7 separate regions of the Homo sapiens genome follow, and all the other regions are linked to region 4. The links are contacts of gene promoters, found by promoter capture Hi-C in blood cells and fetal thymus (Javierre and others, 2016). All regions are on one chromosome and are shown on one strand. The core of a region is centred on a gene start or on the middle of the fragment in contact, and the rest is flanking DNA. Distances in the headings are between cores, read along the strand shown.

What was found. The method cuts DNA at HindIII sites, captures the fragments that hold promoters and counts their contacts. A CHiCAGO score of 5 or more calls a contact.
Region 1: a fragment that was not itself captured here is called in contact with the fragment with the promoter of AGTPBP1 in region 4 in 1 of 17 cell types (naive CD4 T cells); the score reaches 6.1 in naive CD4 T cells.
Region 2: a contact is called between a fragment that was not itself captured here and the fragment with the promoter of AGTPBP1 in region 4, in 11 of 17 cell types (fetal thymus, total B cells, total CD4 T cells and 8 more). The highest score is 14.4, in fetal thymus.
Region 3: a contact is called between a fragment that was not itself captured here and the fragment with the promoter of AGTPBP1 in region 4, in 3 of 17 cell types (non-activated CD4 T cells, total B cells and fetal thymus). The highest score is 6.9, in non-activated CD4 T cells.
Region 5: a fragment that was not itself captured here is called in contact with the fragment with the promoter of AGTPBP1 in region 4 in 1 of 17 cell types (monocytes); the score reaches 5.1 in monocytes.
Region 6: a fragment that was not itself captured here is called in contact with the fragment with the promoter of AGTPBP1 in region 4 in 2 of 17 cell types (monocytes and fetal thymus); the score reaches 7.1 in monocytes.
Region 7: a contact is called between a fragment that was not itself captured here and the fragment with the promoter of AGTPBP1 in region 4, in 2 of 17 cell types (neutrophils and M0 macrophages). The highest score is 7.5, in neutrophils.

Annotation. Positions count from the first base shown.
Region 1 is chr9:83,914,674-83,917,373 of GRCh38, forward strand. KIF27 (kinesin family member 27) reads right to left here. Exons shown (of 18, transcript NM_017576.4): 2 at 621-1,005. The coding sequence starts at 918. Among named protein-coding and RNA genes, the nearest start is that of KIF27, 5.4 kb to the right of the region's middle. The HindIII fragment of the contact is 6,796 bases long and covers 1-2,700 here.
Region 2 is chr9:83,976,195-83,978,894 of GRCh38, forward strand. It overlaps HNRNPK (heterogeneous nuclear ribonucleoprotein K), which reads right to left. Exons shown (of 17, transcript NM_031263.4): 2 at 2,179-2,258; 3 at 2,001-2,085; 4 at 1,495-1,592; 5 at 801-857. The coding sequence starts at 2,058. Among named protein-coding and RNA genes, the nearest start is that of HNRNPK, 2.7 kb to the right of the region's middle. The HindIII fragment of the contact is 3,362 bases long and covers 1-2,700 here.
Region 3 is chr9:83,958,870-83,961,569 of GRCh38, forward strand. No RefSeq gene overlaps it. Among named protein-coding and RNA genes, the nearest start is that of QNG1, 3.5 kb to the left of the region's middle. The HindIII fragment of the contact is 1,002 bases long and covers 832-1,833 here.
Region 4 is chr9:85,740,533-85,743,232 of GRCh38, forward strand. AGTPBP1 (ATP/GTP binding carboxypeptidase 1) reads right to left here and starts at 1,422. Exons shown (of 26, transcript NM_001330701.2): 1 at 1,243-1,422. RefSeq lists an enhancer at 436-585 and silencers at 756-1,075, 1,146-1,745. The HindIII fragment of the contact is 1,776 bases long and covers 147-1,922 here.
Region 5 is chr9:87,477,977-87,480,676 of GRCh38, forward strand. No RefSeq gene overlaps it. Among named protein-coding and RNA genes, the nearest start is that of DAPK1, 19 kb to the right of the region's middle. The HindIII fragment of the contact is 2,760 bases long and covers 1-2,700 here.
Region 6 is chr9:87,606,071-87,608,887 of GRCh38, forward strand. The region is part of intron 3 of DAPK1 (death associated protein kinase 1); the gene reads left to right. Among named protein-coding and RNA genes, the nearest start is that of DAPK1-IT1, 54 kb to the left of the region's middle. The HindIII fragment of the contact is 4,147 bases long and covers 1-2,817 here.
Region 7 is chr9:83,932,633-83,935,332 of GRCh38, forward strand. No RefSeq gene overlaps it. Among named protein-coding and RNA genes, the nearest start is that of KIF27, 13 kb to the left of the region's middle. The HindIII fragment of the contact is 7,420 bases long and covers 1-2,700 here.

The DNA of each region.
Region 1 (2,700 bases), core at 74-2,573, 1.8 Mb before region 4:
AAAAATATAAATACAGTAAACAATCTTAACAGAGGACTTGGCTGTCAATTCCCCCACTCTATTACCAGACACTTAACTAAAATGATTTCCAAGGTTCCCTTCAGCTCTATATGAGATCCTATGATTCCATCTTTTCCAAACTACAATTATAAGCAGGAGAAATTATGTCCTAAAATATTCAGAATTTAAAAAAGAAATCTGGCTAGAATATGAAAAAGAAAAGATACTTTACATAATAAATTTTTCCTACGGTCCCTAAGTCCTGATTGCGGGACTCTTAATATTTACAACTGGCTTGTTAAAGAATGCAAAATCTAATCATGTTAACTCATTTATCTCTATTTTAAATTCTGTTCAAAATAACAAGGGCTGACCACTGAAAACTATTTTAAACTTCTTTCCTCAAGCAAATATAATCCTAAGTTAGATTGCTTAATGAAACTTCAATATTTAAAAACGAATCTTTCAAAGATGATGATCTTATGATCACATTTGATTACATGATTCATTCCTTCACTATTCAATCAATATGCTAAACACCTACCATGTGTCAGGTATTGGTCATATTTTTGCTTCTTTCTAGCGTCACAAATAAAAGTCAAAGAGTATAAGAATCTTACCAATATGGCCCCCTCCAATGGTGTATGTCTTCCCAGATCCAGTTTGTCCATAGGCAAAAACAGTTGCATTATAGCCCTCAATGAGTGACAACACTAGGGGCTTTATACATGTGTTATAAACTTCATCTTGAGTGGAATTTTTGCCAAAAACAAAATCAAAAGTGAAGACTCTATCTCTCCCAATGATAACTTGCTGGCTGTTTGGAATAACTCTCACACAAACTTGATGATTATGAAGAGCTTCTTTGCAAAGCAGAGGTCTAATTCTTACAGCAACTTTTACTGGTATTTCTTCCATGGCAACTTAGATTTTACTAAATAGATTTTCTATTTAATGTTCAGTATCTAGTGTGAGAGACTTCCATCTTATGTAAGATCTGGATTCCTGTGCAACAAAAATAAAAAGCAAATTTTAATTACTGATTCCTTGTATCCCAATAAACTAACCACCTTCTAAAGCAAAGTCAATTAGAACAGGTTTTGTTCCAATACAACACAGTTACAAAGAGTAAGCCTGTCTTGTAAAATACATCGTAAATTTGTAGACAAACTAGTATGTCTTGGGTTTGCTTCAAAATAATCTAGGTGTGGGGTCCATGAGTTGATAAATGATGAAGCTAGGTGATAAGTACATGGGATTCCATTGGGCCTTTATTTCTACAGTAATAATGTTTCCCAGTTCATTAATCTAAATATTAAATAACCAGGGAGTTAGAAAATTAAGGCAAGGAGATAAGTAAGGAACTGTACACACGTTTTTTTGTTTTTTGAGATGGAGTCTAGGCTGGAACGCAGTGGTGAGATCTCGGCTCTCTGCAACCTCTGCCTACCAGGTTCAAGTGATTCTCCTGCCTCAGGCCTCTCGAGTAGCTGGGGTTACAGGCGCCCGCCACCACACCCAGCTAATTTTTGTATTTTTAGTAGAGACAGGGTTTCACCATATTGGCCAGGCTGGTCTCAAGCTCCGAACCTCAGGTGACCCGCCCGCCTCGGCCTCCCAAGTGCCAGGATTACAGGCGTGAGCCACCGTGCCCAGCCTGTACATGTGTTAAAAACAAACATTAGTACTAGATTTTATAGCTATGCATTGAAAAATAGCATCTCCTCTTTGCCACAATTATTAGAAATAAATCCATGAAAATAGTTTTAAGAATTTCAATAAGTCAACATAAATTTAAAACTAAATTTGTATTCAAAAATAATCAAAACTAACAGAAAAACTGCTTTTTCTACTTCTAAATATTATGTTGTACTTATTTCTGAAGATCTCTGCTAGAATTAATACATTAAAATTTAAATTGATGGCTGTAGTTTCCTGGCTAAAAATATATATAAACAAATAATTGGTAACTACATTTACAATGAACACTTTTTTTTTTTTTTTTTTTGAGACGGAGTCTCGCTCTGTCGCTCAGGCTGGAGTGCAGTGGCGCGATCTGGGCTCACTGCAAGCTCCACCTCCCGGGTTCACACCATTCTCCTGCCTCAGCCTCCAGAGTAGCTGGGACTACAGGCACCCGCCACTATGCCTGGCTAATTTTTTCTATTTTTAGTAGACATGGGGTTTCACCGTGTTAGCCAGGACGGTCTCGATCTCCTGACCTCGTGATGCGCCTGTCTTGGCCTCCCAAAGGGCTGGGATTACAGGCGTGAGCCACCGCGCACGACAGAACACTCTTTTTTTTTTAAATATATATATTTTATTATACTTTAAGTTCTAGGGTACATGTGCACAACGTGCAGGTTTGTTACATATGTATACATGTGCCATGTTGGTGTGCTGCACCCATTAACTTGTCATTTACATTAGGTATATCTCCTAATGCTATCCCTCCCCCCTTCCCCCACCCCACAACAAGCCCCAATGTGTGATGTTCCCCTTCCTGTGGCAGAACACTCTTAAAAATAAATGTAAAAAACAATTCCATTTACAATAGCATCAAAAAGAATAAAATACTTAGAAATAAATTTAACAAAAGATGTGTAAAACATATAGTCTGAAAACTATAAAATACTGTTAGAAGAAAGCACAAGATGTAAATGAAAAAACATCTCATGTTTATGAATTGAAAGATATATT
Region 2 (2,700 bases), core at 37-2,536, 1.8 Mb before region 4:
TACAGTAATCAAGAGGAACATACAAAGATCTGCGACCAAGAGAGAAATGAAATACTGTCAAATAAGTACTCGACACAAAGTTATTTGCCTCATTTTTAGCAAGAAAAACATTAAGAAATGTGTACACTATGAGAAAAAAAATTTAGAAATTTTGGTGTAGCCAAGTCCTATAAATGTGCTCACTTCTGGCACTGCCAACATTTAATGTGTCTAATCACAAGAGTCAACCCACTGTAAAATGAAGACTCAAACAAATCATAGGCATTGACGAACAGTTTCCCAATTATAAGATTAAGTGCCTACTCTATTCTTTACCCATATTTAAATCATGCAACCTCAACATTAAATTCTTTGTGCTCCATGTGCAAGCTGTTAAAGAACAGATGGACATTTTTCTTCCCAAAGAAAACAAAAAAATTTTTCTGGATTTAACCAGCCACCTGCAATGGTTTTCAGTAATACTGTAATTGATTCACACACAGGAAATGGTGCAATCAAGGATTTTTACACTTTGTCGCTATTTCTAATTAAGATGTTATCTTGCTTGATGAAGTGAATAATTTGGTGGACTCTTATTAAAATGTGAAGAGGTTTGAAAGAAACCACCCCCCCACCCTGCTCAATCTGGGCTTTTGTTAAAACAGGAATGGATAACTTCGAAATCAATTCTGTAATAATAAATTATTACAAATGTCTTTGTAGCTAAACTATGAAATGATTTCTAGGATGTAAATCTTTAAATTTCTATAGACATATAAACTGAAGCTGCTCGTGTAGTAGTTTAAACTCTTAATACTTACGTCTGTACGGAGAGCCTTAATATTCTTGCCTCCTTTTCCAATCACTGCCCCAGCATTCTGGAGAAGATACAAAGACAAAAAATTATTTTGCCTTTCCCTAAAATTAATAGCTACCTACGCTCTTAGATTTTGCTAAAAAATCCTCTAACCTGTTTGTTATAAGAATAAAAATCTATTTGGGGTTGTAAAAACGACCAGGCCAAAACCAAACCAAAAATCAAAATATAATTCTAAGTGCTGTGAGGACTAGATAGTTTGGAGTACTCAATGTCAGAAATAACACCAAGTATAAAATAAAACTAAGCACAGATTTTATAGCACCCTTTGGTAAAATAAGTCAATTAATTTAGTATTAGTAGGTACCTTCATATTGTGACCTGTGATCAAACAATAAACTGCCAACCAAGCAGTTTCCTAAGGAGTCCACACATAATTAAGATTTAATCTATTAACACTTTAAGAATCACACTCTCCTCCTAGTTTGACCTGTAGTGGCGGTTCACTACAGCAAGGGCTTTAATCTTAACTGTTAGTGGAATAAGAAAACCACCAGAGCCTTCAAGTCTGTTTAGAAAGAACCAAATGTTTTATATTCTTCAATCTGTAAAACTTTGACTTTCTAGAAAGCCAAACCAGACCTTAATTTCTACCTGAGTATGAACCACCTTCAAATTTTCAAGAATAAAATTTATACCTTGCTCTGAAGCAGAATGCGTAATTCAACCATCTCATCAGTGTTTCTAGATCTTTTAAATGCTTGTTCCTCTTCCATATCTTCTGCAGGGCGTTTACCTAAAAATTAACAGTTCACATTTCAAAGAAAGCAGCGAAGTCTCCAAAGTAACTCCATTCTGTTTCAAGAGACTTGTTGCTAATCTTAGGCATGTTTTGAAAAGACCAAAGGCATTGCTACAGACTTGAACGTTATGCTTCCATCTAGTAAAATGCACCAAACACAAAATACTGCCACAAAATACTTCAAAGGATTTGAAATCCCAAAATGCAAGAAAAATTCTTTATATGCAAATCAGTTACTTCTACTTCATAAATAAAAGCTAAGATGTAACTACTGATAATCGCAGAATTACATAAACAGTAATACCAAAAATTCACCACACACTCCTAAGGCAATAATTAACAGAAAAAGGCAATTTATTAACAGGATAAAAAAATACTGTTAAAACTAAAATTTCTTCTCACCAAATTCACCATTGGTTTCAGTGTTAGGGAAGGTTTCTTCTGGCTGTTCAGTTTCCATATTCTTTTATTAAACGGGCACACCAATCTGTGGAAAAATAAAGCAGCTAGTACATTTGGCTTATTGGAAAGCAAGCTGTAAAAAAAAAAAAAAAAAAAAGACATTGCTTCTAGAACGTACCAGTTATTATATATCCTTGCAGAGCAGAACTGAAGCGTTCTGGGTCGGACCAACAACTGACACCCCAGTGCTGCAGTAGCCTATAAGAACCAACACAAATCAGTTTTGCTTTTGTTTATTCTTATTACTGAATATTTGTTTCCGATCACAGTGAATACTGATTTGAACCCAAAAAACCAGCTGTTTCTAAAACTTGATTCTTCATTTTAGGGTTTCACAATTCAAATGACTGCCTAAAAAATACAAAATTCAAGGGAGCCTGGTTTCATTTTTTGCTAAGTTAGAACAATAACTTTTAGCCACTGGATTAAGTCCCACCACAGCAATGAATTGTTTTATACGGCACATTCCCAAAACCCTGAAAAGATAAATGTCATCCACAAAGCATACATTTATGAAAAGTTACAATGCATCTTATTCACTGGGAAAACTAATTTTATATTAAAACTTCCAATTGCTTTCCTATTTCTTTCGACTCATGCTTGAAGCGATCTTATGTGACATCTCTAAAGTTTACAAATA
Region 3 (2,700 bases), core at 83-2,582, 1.8 Mb before region 4:
AGGCTGAGGTGGGAGGATCGTCTGAGCCCAGGAGGCAGAGAGATTCCAGTGAGGTGAGATTGTGCCACTGCACTCCAGACTGTGAGAAAAAGTGAGACCCCCCCCCGTTCCCCCTCCCACCCAAAAAGTCAAATTCCTGCCTATGTTCAAGGTATTTAAGCACTAAAAGTAGTATACACAAGAATAAAACATGCCTCCTTCACTCAACTTTGAGATAAATCAAAACTGTGTGTGTCTGGGATTTTTGTTTTTGTTTTTTTAAGTGTGTCTACAAGATGCTGAGAATACAAAAATGAGTTGGGCTGGCCGTGGTGACTCAGGCCTGTAATCCCAGCACTTTAGCAGGCCAAGGATCACTTGAGCCCAGGAATTCGAGACCATCCTGGGCAACATGACAAAACCCTGTCTCTACAAAAAAAAAAAAAGAAAAAGAAAACATTAGCCAGGTGGCTGGAGCCTGTAGTCCCAGCTACTCCCAGAGGCTGAGGTGGGAGGATCCCTTGAGCCTGGGAGGCGGAGGTTGCAGTGAGCTGAAATGGCACCACCGCACTCCAATCTGGGCAACCCACTGTCTCAAAAAAAAAAAAAAAAAAAGTGAGTTCTTCACCTACTGAACATGGTTTTCCTGCTTTTTCCTTCCCAATAGATACTGTGATACTGTTTAGGAATCCATCTCTCAACTGCACTCCCTTGTAGCTTAGTTTAGCATCCTCAGACTCAAGGGTAGTCAGGACTGGTAATATCACCCTCTTGCCAGCAACTGGATTAGGTTTATGCATATTTCCCAGTTCACCTCAGTGAGTTGCAAGATTTGCAGAATGCTTGCAGAAAAGCTTTTCCTCACTCTTCCAGGAGAATTTTCAGAAGTGATTCAGGCTCCCTCTGGACCTGATTGACCTTGAATGTAAGGCCTGGAATTGCTGCAGTCCTTTTGATGGCAACCTGAGTTTGTTTTTTGGTTTTGTTTTGTTTGAGATGGAGTCTCGCTCTGTCGCCCAGGCTAGAGTGCAGTGGCCCGATCTCGGCTCACTGCAAGCTCCGCCTCCCGGGTTCACGCCATTCTCCTGCCTCAGCCCCCCGCCGCCCCCCCGCCCCGGTTCTATCAGCCGCCACCATGCCCGGTTAGCCAGGATGGTCTCGATCTCCTGACCTCATGATCTGCCCACCTCGGCCTCCCAAAGTGCTGGGATTACAGGCATGAGCCACCACACCCGACTTTGGTTTTTTTTTTTTTTTTTGAGACGGAGTCTCGCTCTGTCGCCTAGGCTGGAGTGCAATGGCGCGATCTCCACTCACTGCAACCTCCGCCTCCCGGGTTCAGGCCATTCTCTCCTGCCTCAGCCTCCCGAGTAGCTGGGATTACAGGCTCCCGCCACCATGCCCGGCTAATATTTTGTATTTTTTTAGTAGAGACGGGGGTTTCACGATGTTAGCCAGGATGGTCTCTATCTCCTGATAGAGATAGATAAATCTTTGGCAGAAGCTGTACCCTGTAGGCATAGGCTTTATTTATTTATTTGAAACAGGGTCTTACTCTGTCACACAGACTGGAGTGCAGTGGTGCAGTCATAGCTCACTGCAGCCTTGACCTCCCCAGCTCAAGTGATCCTCCTGAGTAGCTGGGACTACAGGCATGTACCATTGCACCCAGCTAATTTTTAATTTTTTTGTAGAGATGGGGTCTGCTGTGTTGCCCAGGTTGGCTTCGAACTCCTGGGCTCAAGTAATCCGCCTGCCTCGGCCTCACAAAGTGCTGGGATTACAGGCGTGAGCTACTATGCCTTGCAGGGGTAGGCTTTTGAAGAGATAGTGATGACCTCTAAATAACCTCTAAGCTTGCATTTTAAAGGTTAACAAAGGAGGAAGACATGATCAATGATGTGTCCATATAACTTTCCCCCCCTTGAACAGTATCCAAGTTAGATTATTCCAGTCATCAAGAGAGTCATCATTTTTGATTAGCTAAATTACATGTCAAGCTCTTGGGAATGATTATTGCTATATCTTCTATTTTCTATGATAGGCTATAGCATTAAAGAAATGGAGGGTCGGCCAGGTGTGGTGGCTCATGCCTGTAATCCCAGCACTTTGGGAGGCCGAGGCGGGCTGATCATTTGAGCTCAGGGGTTTGAGACCAACCTCAACAACATAGTGAGACCCTGTCTGTACAAAAAACAATAAAAAAAATTATCTAGGTGTGGTGGCATGTGCCTATAGTCTCAGCTTCTTAGGCGCCTGAGGCAAGAGGATCGCTTGAGCCCAAGAGGTCGAGGCTGCAGTGAGCTGTGTTCGTGCCACTGCACTCCAGCCTGGGCAACAGAGGAAGTTGCAAAAGTTGCCTAGAGCAGTGGATGGACAATAGACATCGCTAGTGGGAGGACATAGTTTCCCATATGTGCTCAAAGAGTTATGCATAGAAGTGAAATGGATTTTGTGGAGGTAAGACATCTCTTATTTTTATTTCTTTTTATATACACAAAATGACAGACTGAATCCCCATGAAGCCATAGCAGAAAAGAGATATGGCTCACTACAGTGTAATTTTTCTGTTCCTTTTCTTCTTGATTTATCCATATTTAGCATTTAAGATTGAGCACTTCCTTGAAATTGTCCATTGGCTTGCAGGGCATTTATATTTTCCTGGTTTTCTTAGTGTCATTGAAAGCTCTTCCTACTCTCTCCTTACTGAGTTTGGAATGT
Region 4 (2,700 bases), core at 172-2,671:
GTTCCTTAAATAAATCATTTCTTTTTTGGCCTACTGAACTAAAAACATTCCACAATACAATTACAAAAATAACTTTCCGGTTTTCTCAGACAACCAGTTTATAAGAATAATTCAGAAGTTCACAAAGGATAATTTGATTTACATAAAGCTTAAAAAACGGACATAAAAGGTAAGTGAAAATGACCGATTAAGAAGACTGTTAAGGTCCTTTCTAACTACAAATTGTCATGCATTGTAATTAAACACAACTACAATGTTAAACACCTGAAGGAAAAAACCCACATAGAATTAATACTGCCAAAGAAAATTTCCGCTATCTTCAGGCACTTGAGTAAGCTATGTTAAAACGGGAAATGGGCTTTAAATTATCAACATTCACATCGATTACACTATGATGCATGAAAACTCCATTCTACAATGAGTAAACGCCCAAGAAAGGAACCCAACCAACTCCAATTGCCCTGGTGCTCGTAAGAGGTTTATACCGCACAAGGGGTAAAACAACGGTAGAGTCGAGCAAGCCTTTGGGTTACAACAGTCCTTGAACACTTGCAATTGAGAACCCGCAATTCAGGAAGGAAGACACTAAGGAAACTCTGCACTGTCATCCAGGGTGATCTGATTCAGGTTCAAACCAAACGCTCAAGGCGACAAGTTGTAAACAGAAGACACACTTCAGCTCAAACCACCCAGCGAGAGGAAGCAAACGTGCCCATCGCCGATGTCACAGCAAATCCCACCTTGCTGGCGCTCAGTCGGGAACGCTAGAATTCTCGAAGCACAGGGGCCCGCGATTCAGCGGCCCGCTACCACTGGGGCGGGGGAGAGCGGGGCTGGGCGCGCCCGCCCCCGGCCCTGCAGCCCCTCGGCTGGACTCCCCGCGGCGCCGCGAGCTCGGGCCCGAGAGAAAGGGCTGAGCAGAAAGGGCGGCCTCCGCCCAGAGACCGCGCCCGATACCCTCCGCAAGGTCTGGGACGGGGATCCACCGAGGGTCCGGGGACTGGGGAAGGCGTTTTCCAGACCCAGTCAAAGCCCCACCCCGTCAGGGCTTTCCCTCAAGACCGAGTGCGTTCCCCTCACGCGTCACATGTGTAACATGCGTTACACAACCCGTCAGGTAAGGGGCGCAGGGATCCGGGGTCGCCCCTCCTACCCCCGGGCGCCGTCGCTCGCATCTCCCGCGGCCCGGGGAGAGCAGAGGGACGGCCGGCCGGGACATGAGGACTGCAGCAGGGCGCTCACCGGCTCAGGATGGGGCGCTGGCGGGGACCGCGCAGAGCCGCAGCACCCGGCTCAGCACCTGGATCACGGCGGATCCCTCGCCGCCCGCCGCCCGGTGTTTTCATACAAACCCCGGTGGCAGGCGAGGCGGAGGCGGCGGCGGCGGCAGCTGCGGCGGCGGCGCTGGAGGCGGCGGAACCTGTCCGCATCCCGGGCAACGTCAGCGCGGCGCCCCGCCCACCGCACGCCTTGCCAGCCGGCTCCCAGCACGCGCAGGGAGTGGGGGCGGGGCGTGCGAGGCCGCGAAAGGGGCGGGGCGGAGCGCACGCCCTCTTCCCGCCGCGTCCCTTGTTACCTCCGTGCGCGCTGCGCCCCGCCTCTCTGCGCGCCTGACGGGAGGGAGCGCGCGCGTGGGGGCGGAGCGCGCACGGGAGCGGGAATTAGGGGCGGGTGTTCCGCGCGCTGCCGGTCCCTTGTACCCAGCAGCCCCGGCCACCGCCCCTCCGTACCGAACTGCGAGCGACTCCCCACGTTCTTCAAGTCATCTTTCTGTACACTCCCAACGAGGGCCCCAGCCTTTTCCCGGAACTAAGCCCGCGCCCACCCCCTCCCCCGCCATCAATCAGTCACTTTCTTAGGAAGGGTTCTTAAAGCTCCCCACGTGATCCCGGGGTCGCATCAAACGCTGGGGACTGCGGTAAAGCTTAGACCTTTCCTGACCTCAAGGAGGGTCCATAATAAGAGGCTGGAAGGGACATGCTGTTACTACAATCGGGCTCCCAGAAAACAACAGGATTGCACCTTGTGGCCAAATCTCAGTAAATTAGATGCCTAGTGCTGCAGCGAACAAAATAGCATGCTGATTTACTGTTTTTTGAAAAAGTGCCTGCATATAATCAAAACGGTAATGCTAAGTTGGCTACTGAAGGCAAAGGCGGAATGTTTTATCTGAGCCAAAGTAATGTGTCAGAGAAATTACTAATACACCCCCTTCTGTTTTGACTGTACTTCAGTGTACTGCAATGTATTGCAAATAAATACTGACATCATTTACTTTTTCACGTTGCACAAGAACATGTTTGCTACTGTTTATGGTAAGGAATGTAATATCACAACTAGATAAGGGAATGCATTGAGAACTGTGAGATTTTTGTTTTGTTTTATGATCTTGTTCAAATAAAATTAAGCAGGTGTGAAAGCAATTCAAAAAGTAACCCAAGGTACACCACAGTGCTTCTTACAGTTTGCCCTTGGTAGATGTCTTTATTCAGATGAACAAGAAACTGCCATTTTATAAACATCGTAGTTTCCCTCATCGTGAGCACTAAAAGATAGGTTACGGTATTTAAAATAATTTTGAAACAACCACCACCCCAAACCACCCAATCAGAAACGTATTATCTGAAAATACCCAATAATAATGTAATAATTTTACAATAATGCTAAATATGTATGTAATATACCTGAAACTTTTCTTAA
Region 5 (2,700 bases), core at 122-2,621, 1.7 Mb after region 4:
CAGCTTGTACATAAAACCTCAGTACGCTTATCTTCTTCTACATATTTAAAGTAATAGAACTCGGTCTAATTTCAAGAATTACTTGAAAAGTGGGTGGCCAACCAGGTGGGCAATCCAGGTAGGAATCCAGGTGGCTCTGAAGATGTGAACACAGGTAAGCAGAGGTTGTCATTTCAGAAGATCTGGAGGTCAAGGTCTGGGGGAGACTGGTGTGCAAGAGGTTAATTAGTGAGTGCCCTTGGGATTAATACTTGAGGAAGGGAAGGACAGGAGATAGGATTGGCAGAGGGCAAAGTGGAGCAGCCATGATGAAGGCTACAGACAACCCCTCCAGGAGCTTTAGAGCTGCGATAACCCATTCAGAGTTGTGTCAAATTCAGGAGACCACCTCCAGTGGATGCAGCCTGCTCCAGCTAGGGGACCTGGCCTTGGGCCAGAAGGCTCTCTTCAGCTGGGGCAAGTCCCACAGTGGGCTGACAGCTAAGGGTGTTGTCCCAAGAGCACTTCCCACAGCTAGCTGAGGAAGTGAAGCCTGCAATCCCTGAAGGGGACCTGGGTTAGGGGCCACACCACAGCACCATCCCAGGAAAATAAACATCTCCCTCTCCTGGGAGCAGGGCTTTGAAAAACTAGGCAAGAGTATCAGAGCTGCCATCCCAAGATAGGGCTCAGGGCAAGACCCCCATTTCAGGGGCAATGGGGAGAACAGGGCCTGGAAGATGAATCTTTGCTTCACAACAGAATGCAAATAAGACTGAAGGCGAGGCTGTCAAAGGGCCAGCCCACACAGAGCAGGAGCCAACCTGGGGGCTTTGGGTGCTAGAGGGGTCGCGTGTGGCCCGTGCTCTGCTGCACCCTCTCCTAGGTCAGTTTGATAACCAGGAAGCTCAGGGAAGCCCCTGGAAGCCCAGCAGGACCGCCCGGGTCACAGACTCACAGTTCAGGGAGTGCAGCCCAGCCTGGTGCTGGAGTGGGGGTGTGAGAGAGGAGGTGAAGGGGGAGTATCCTAGTTTTACCAGCTTTAAGGAGATGGAGAAGACAGGAGACGGCAGGAGTAAAGGTAAGTAATTAGCTGCAGTTTGCAAATGCGGGATACCTTACATTTTACAAAAGCCTTTGCATAGATATGATTCTATTTTGTTAGTTCTGCCCCTAGAATGTTTATATATAAAAATGTTATCTGTAGATGAATATGATAGATTCTTTTTTCTTTTTTAATTTTTTTGAGATGGAGTCTCGCTTTTTGCCCAGGCTGGAGTGCAGTGGCATGATCTTGGCTCACTGCAACCTCCGCCTCCTGGGTTCAAGTGATTCTCCTGCCTCAGCCTCCCGAGTAGCTGGGATTACAGGGGTGTACCACCATGCTCAGCTAGGTTTTGTATTTTTTTTTTTTTTTTTTTGAGATAGAGTCTCGCTCTGTTGCCCAGGCTGGCATGCAGTGGCAGGATCTCGGCTCACTGCAAGCTCTGCCTCCCGGGTTCACGCCATTCTCCTGCCTCAGCCTCCCGAGTAGCTGGGACTACAGGTGCCCGCCACCACGCCTGGCTAATTTTTTGTATTTTTAGTAGAGACGGGGTTTCACCGTGTTAGCCAGGATGGTCTCGATCTCCTGACCTCATGATCCACCCGCTTCGGCCTCCCAAAGTGCTGGGATTACAGGCGTGAGCCACTGCGCCCAGCCGGTTTTGTATTTTTAGTGGAGACGGGGTTTCACCCTATTGGCCAGGCTGGTCTCAAACTCCTGACCTCAAGTAATCCACCCACCTCGGCCTCCTAAAGTCCTGGGATTATAGGCATGAGCCACCGCTCCGGGCTGAGATTCTTACAGCATAGCTGATATCAGAGTGCATCTCTCTCTCTCCCCTCTCCCCCAGGACTCTGGAGCCATGAGTAACACCAGGCAGGAGAGCACCCAGGAGTGTGTGGTTTCTGTGGTGGCTGGGCCACTGCAAGTTTCCTTGGCCACGTGACCATTCTTAGCCCAGGAAGACGACTCCAGTAGTACTTTCTTCACTTCCCCTTTCACTTCTCTTGTTCACCAATGTTAAGGGACCACCAGTTTTTAGAGATTCACCCACATTGTGAAGGTGGTGAGGTCATGTTGCCACTTTGACAATGACATGGCATTTAATTTTTAACCAAACCAAATACAGCATTCTGTCACTCGGGACAACCTTTGGAGACAGCTCCAAGGAAGTCTCCCCTCATGTTCTGCCTGCCGGATTAAACAGGAGTCTTGTTGAAGAAAACATGAAACAGGGAAAGTTAAGACCTCAGCAGTCATAACTGTTAATAAAACATGAGACTGCAAGAGGTGATGTTAGAAAAGAAACTTAATGTCCGCCTAGGTAATCATATCTTCTTATCGTGGGACCAAAGCATAAATGTAACTCATATATGTTTGTCCATTAAAATTAAGTGGTGGATCACATCCCCATCCCTGTAAATACTGGTTTGGACACCTCCAGGGGAAGGCAGGACAATGGGAAATTATATACATAAAGGCAAAGGGACCAATTGAAAACTTCCATTGCTAGATCCTCACATGACCTCTTTGAGGTCACATCCTATTTATAATAGGCAAAGCATAACCCTTCAGTGCCAATTAACAAATGCTTTATTAGGGTATTTGCGTGTTTATAACCATTGAATAATGTCCTTGCAAAGCGGCATCTTGCTGTCTATTTTCAGGTACTTAAT
Region 6 (2,817 bases), core at 241-2,740, 1.9 Mb after region 4:
TGAATTCAGATTTGCCCTTTTGCCCATCCAACAGTCCCCTTCTTTGCGATCCAACGGCCTCCTTCTTTGCAGATACCTTAGGGGTAAGAAGAGATTTTCAAGACCAGAGGAGAAGGTTGGCAGAGCTGCCAGGCCAGCTCCCAGGCGCCACCCTGCAGGTACCTCCACTTTGCAATCCCAGGTGCCTGCGGTCCCCACAGCATCTTGTCTCATCACTGGGATTTGGGCACATTTCTTTATGGGTCTCAGCTACAAATTTCTTAACCATAAAATGGGGTTAATAATATCTCAGATGGTTTATGGGGAGATAAATGAGATAAGAATTTTTAAATACCTAACACTGTGCTGGTTGGTAGATGACATTAATATGCTCCCTCCCTCCCTTCCTTCCTCTCTCTCTTTCCCTTCCTTCCTCCCTCTGTCTCTCCCTCCCTCCCTCTCTCCTTCCTTCCTTCCTTCCTTCCCCCCTCCCTCCCTCTCTCCCTCTCTCCCTCCCTCCGTCTCCCCTTCCTTCCTTCCTTCCTTCCTCCCTCCCTCCCTCCCTCTCTCTCTCCCTCCTTTTCTCCCTCCCTCCATCTCTCCTTCCTTCCTTCCTCCCTCTCTCTCCCTGTCCCTCCCTCTCTCCTTCCTTCCTTCCTTCCTCCCTCTCTCTCTCCCTCCCTCCCTCTCTCCTTCCTTCCTTCTTTCCTTCCTTCCTCCCTCCCTCCCTCCCTCCTTTTTCTCCTTCCCTCCCTTCCTCTCTCCTTCCTTCCTCCCTTTCTCCCCCCTTCCAAATCAGCAGTTCTCAATCTTGGCACAAGTGACATTTTGGGCTGAATCACTCTTCCTTCAGGCTGTCCTAAACATTGTAGAATGTTTAGCAGCATCTCTGGCTTCTACCTACTAGATTCCAGTAGCACTCTTCCCCCATGTTGTGACAACTAAAAATATATCCAGACATTGCCACATGTACCCTGGGGGCAAAATCTCCTGCTTCCCCTGTACCCTCCCACCCTCGTAACTGAGAACTCTGGCTTTAAAGGAAGAACAGAGCTTTAAGGGGCCAGGAGATTAAGGACTTGCTTAGGGTACAACAGAGGAAAAAGGACAAATCATGGTGTAATCCTCACTGTGGCTTTATGTGGCTCCTGGGAGACAGCAGCCTAGAGTGAAGATGGGGGCTGGGGAACCAGACAGAACTGGGATCAAAATCCAGGGCAAATCCTTTCTTGTCTTTAAGCCTACATTTCCTGCCTTAAGACAGTGCATACAAAGTGCCTGGAAAAAGAAACATAACAAATCACAACTATTCTGCCTTTTCAGATAATTCCCAGGTTGTGCCCAGTGACTCAAGAATGCCACTTATCCTCATTTCATACTAAAATATTTGAGCGATGCCTATGAGTCACTGCCCCTCTTGTGCCTCTCTGCGTGTACATATTGTGCATTCAACATCTGTTGTCTGACCCCAATTCATAGATAGTTCCCATTAGGTGCATTTACTCTGTGCCTAAATTGGGTGGCATACAATTATTTTTTTTTACCATTTGATTATGTAAAAATTTTATTTATAATACAGCAAATATAGTGTTGGAGGAGGGTTGTGTCATTCTATGAAAGTTAACACATGTAAATCATGTAACCAGCAGTCTAATTGGGACTCAGAACAGTTCCCATACCCCTACATACTCCAGTACCCCTTGTATTAATACTACCCCTTCATGCCTGCCCTCTACTGCCTAACCCCTGGCAAGCCCTGAGCTGGTCTTCATCACTGTTTGTATTAGTCCATTCTCACACTGCTATAAAGGCAGACCTGAGACTGGGTAATTTGTGAAGAAAAGAGATTCAATTGACTCATGGTTCTGCAGGCTGTACAGGAAGCATGGCTGGGGAGGCCTCAGGAAACTTACAATGATGGCAGAAGGTAAAGGGGAAGCAAGAGCCATCCTCACATGACCGGCAGGAGGAAGAGAGAGAGAAGGGGGAAGTGCTACACACTTTGAGACAACCAGATCTCCTGAGAACTCTATCAGGAGATCAGCAAGGGGGAAGTTCACCCCTATGATTCATTCACCTCCCACCAGGCCCCTCTTCCAACATTGGGAATTATAATCCGACATGAGATTTGGATGGAGGCACGGAGCCAAACCATATCACTACTGTTTTGTTGTTTTGAAAATGTCCAGTGAATAGAATCATACAGTATGCAAGTGTTTGAAAGTAGCTTCTTTCACTCAGCATAATGCATTGGAGATTTGTGCATGAAGAGTGAGTCCGTTTTTATTACTGAGTAGTATTTCATTGTATGGATTTTTTATAAACCATTCACCCATTTGGGTTGTTTCTGGTATTTGATAATTAGGAGTAAAACTGCTACAAACATTCCCATACAGACTTGTGTGTGGGCATAGGTTTTTATTTCTCTTCAGTAAATACCTAGAGATCTTGGGATTGCTGGATCGTGTAGTAAATGTATGTTCAACTTTATGAGAAACTGCCAAGCTGTCTTCTAAAGTGAGCATACCGTTTTACAGTCCCTGCAGCAATGGATGAGAATTCCGATTGCTCCACCAGTGGGGCTCTGTACTGTTTTTCAATTGTAGGCTTTCTAATAGTTGCATCTTGGCATACAGCTTTACATTGTTAACTGCATGATGACCCTAAATGAAAGCTGAGCGATCTCACTAGGAACAGCTTTTAGATGGAGTGAGCGGGAGGGCCCTTAGGAGCTGGCCACATCCTTCACAGGGCTAGACAGGTCCCTGGTTATTTGCTCTTCATAAATTCTAGTGTCCCCTAGGAGCTGACTATTTTTGCCTCTTCACCACCCAGGCA
Region 7 (2,700 bases), core at 194-2,693, 1.8 Mb before region 4:
AAAAAAAAAAAAAAAAGTTCCTCATTAACATTTTACCTAGAAGCCATTGAGGATCATTTCCCATATCTATTATTTCGTTAGGGATTGCACAATGGTAATGTTCTAATATTCCTTTTTGCATTTATTAGCTGGTATTGTTCTATAAAGAAGAGCTTTTCCTCTATCAGATTATCCTGAAATGCAGTTAGTACAGGAATAACAGAATAAATGCTTTTTTCCTTTTTATTTACCAATTTTCAGAATTACAAATTGGTCCCTACCAACCTTCAAAATCAAACAATACGGTTTCTTTTTTTGGAGCACGTGTGTGGTAGAAGGAGGGTAACTATGAACTCATAGTTTTTTTTATATTTTTTTACTTGCTTTCAAAATACTATTTTTGGTTCTCAAAGTATTTCTAGGCTTCTCTCTAAATACCATTGTGACCTATTTGTTTCTTCTCACTTTGACTCAGGCTTCGTCAAAGTTATTGAGCCTTGGCTGGGCACAATGGCTCATGCTTTGGGAGGCTGAGGCAGGAGGATTACTTGAGGTCAGGAGTTCGAGACCAGCCTGGGCAACCTAGTGAGACTCTATCTCTACAAAAAATAAAAATTAGCCAGGCATGGTGGTGCACGCCTGTAATCCCAGCTACTTGGGAGATTGAGGTGGGGGAATTGCTTGAGCCCAGGAGGTTGAGGCTGCAGTGAGCAGTGATCAAACCACTGCACTCCAGCTTAGGTGACAGAGTGAGACGCTGCCTCTAAAAAACAAAGCAACACTTTTTTTTTTTTTGAGATGGAGTCTCGCTTTGTCACCCAGTCTGGAGTGCAGTGGCGCAATCTCGGCTCACTGCAAGCTCTGCCTCCCAGGTTCACGCCATTCTCCTGCCTCAACCTCACAAGTAGCTGGGACTACAGGTGCCCGCCACCACGCCCAGCTAATTTTTTGTATTTTTAGTAGAGACAGGTTTCACCGTGTTAGCCAGGATGGTCTTGATCTCCTGACCTTGTGATCCTCCTGCCTCGGCCTCCCAAAGTGCTGGGATTACAGGCGTGAGCCACCACGCCCGGCCAAAGCAACATGTTTATGTTTTTTTAAAAAAGGAACAAAGCTGTTGAGCCTTAATAATTGCATTCTACTCCTGCAACCAAATACAGGTTAGTATTCTATATCAACTGACTCTTAGTCTATCTTGAGAGTGGCAAAATGGGAATGGCGAAGAAAGGGAGAGAATTCCTAGGTTTGTCCTGTCTCCAGACAGGAAGTTGGATTAGTGCTTTCTTTTCCTTTTCCTTTTTTTTTTTTCTTTTGAGACATAGTCTGGCTCTATTGCGCAGGCTGGAGTGCTGGAGTGCAATGATGCAATCTCAGCTTGCTGCAACCTCTGTCTCCCAGGTTCAAGTGATTCTCCTGATCTCAGCCAAGATCGTACCATTGCACTCCAGCTTGGGCAACAAGAGTGACATTCCATCTCAAAAAAAAAAGAAAGAAAAGAAAAGAAATATGAGGTATGGTCTTTGTGCATTTTAATCCCTAGACTGTAACTAGTTACATGATCATGGCTAAAGCCAGCTCTATCCCTGGGCTTATTTTGTTGATCACTACAATTGCTTTTTCACTATGCTAGTTTTAGTTTGATTTATTTCATTTAAAACTAAAACATCCTTAACCCAAAGGGATAAAAGAAAGGAAAAGATACACAGTGTATGGAAAAAAGAGAAATTTAGATGAATGGCACAATAATATATTTCTCCAAACTTCCAATTGTTTAATCAATAAATTGTATACCTGCAAGGAATTTTACAAATTACAGGCATGCATCACATAACAATGATTTGGTCACCCATGAACTGCATACACCATAGTATATGGTATCCCATGAGATTATCCCATCCCAGTGGGACAAGACCAGACACAGACCCTTCAATTCCTCATTCTTTTTTACAATTTTTTTTTTTTTTTCCGTAGAGACGGGGTCTTGCTATGTTGCCTAGGCTGGTCTTGAACACCTGGGCTCAAGTAATCCTCCTGTGTGGGCCTCTCAAAGTGGTGGGATTACAGATGTGCATCACCATGCTCAGCCCAATTCCTCATTCTTTGTCTCTCTATTAGAACTCTTTGTCCACCTAAAACCAGCATGACACAGAGATAAATATTTCCTGTTTGGCAACTGACTGAGACTTCTGATTGCAAAACAATCCCACATGTAAGTCCTCCACCTGTAACTTGTATACTCCTCTCTATAAAAGTCTAAGGCAAAACCACCCTGCCAAGAGACTCTGATCTTTGGATTTGGAGTGCTTTTCCTATTGTAATAGCCTGAATAGATCAATTCCCTTACTTGTTTAGGTTTTGTATTTGACTATAGCACCCACCAAAAAGCTGGAAATTTTAAACTAAAGCAAAAAACAGCACACCTCGAGAAAGACGGGTCACAGAGTTGCAAGGAAAAGGAAGGTCTAGTTGCCTCAAAGCTGATCCCCTAGGTCATATACAGTCATTAAATCCGCATCTGGGGCAGACTGGGGTGCCAGCCTGACTAAGCCATTATCCATTCAGCTTCAGGGGAGGGGACACTGTGAGGAAGCTCAATACATGATTTCTGAATTGAATGAAACAAAATCTATTAATTTGCCTTGGTGCTAATTAGGGAGAAGTTTAAGGTTGATAAAGGAAAAAAAGCAGCCCCTGATAAAAAGCTGGCCTGGCACCCACAGC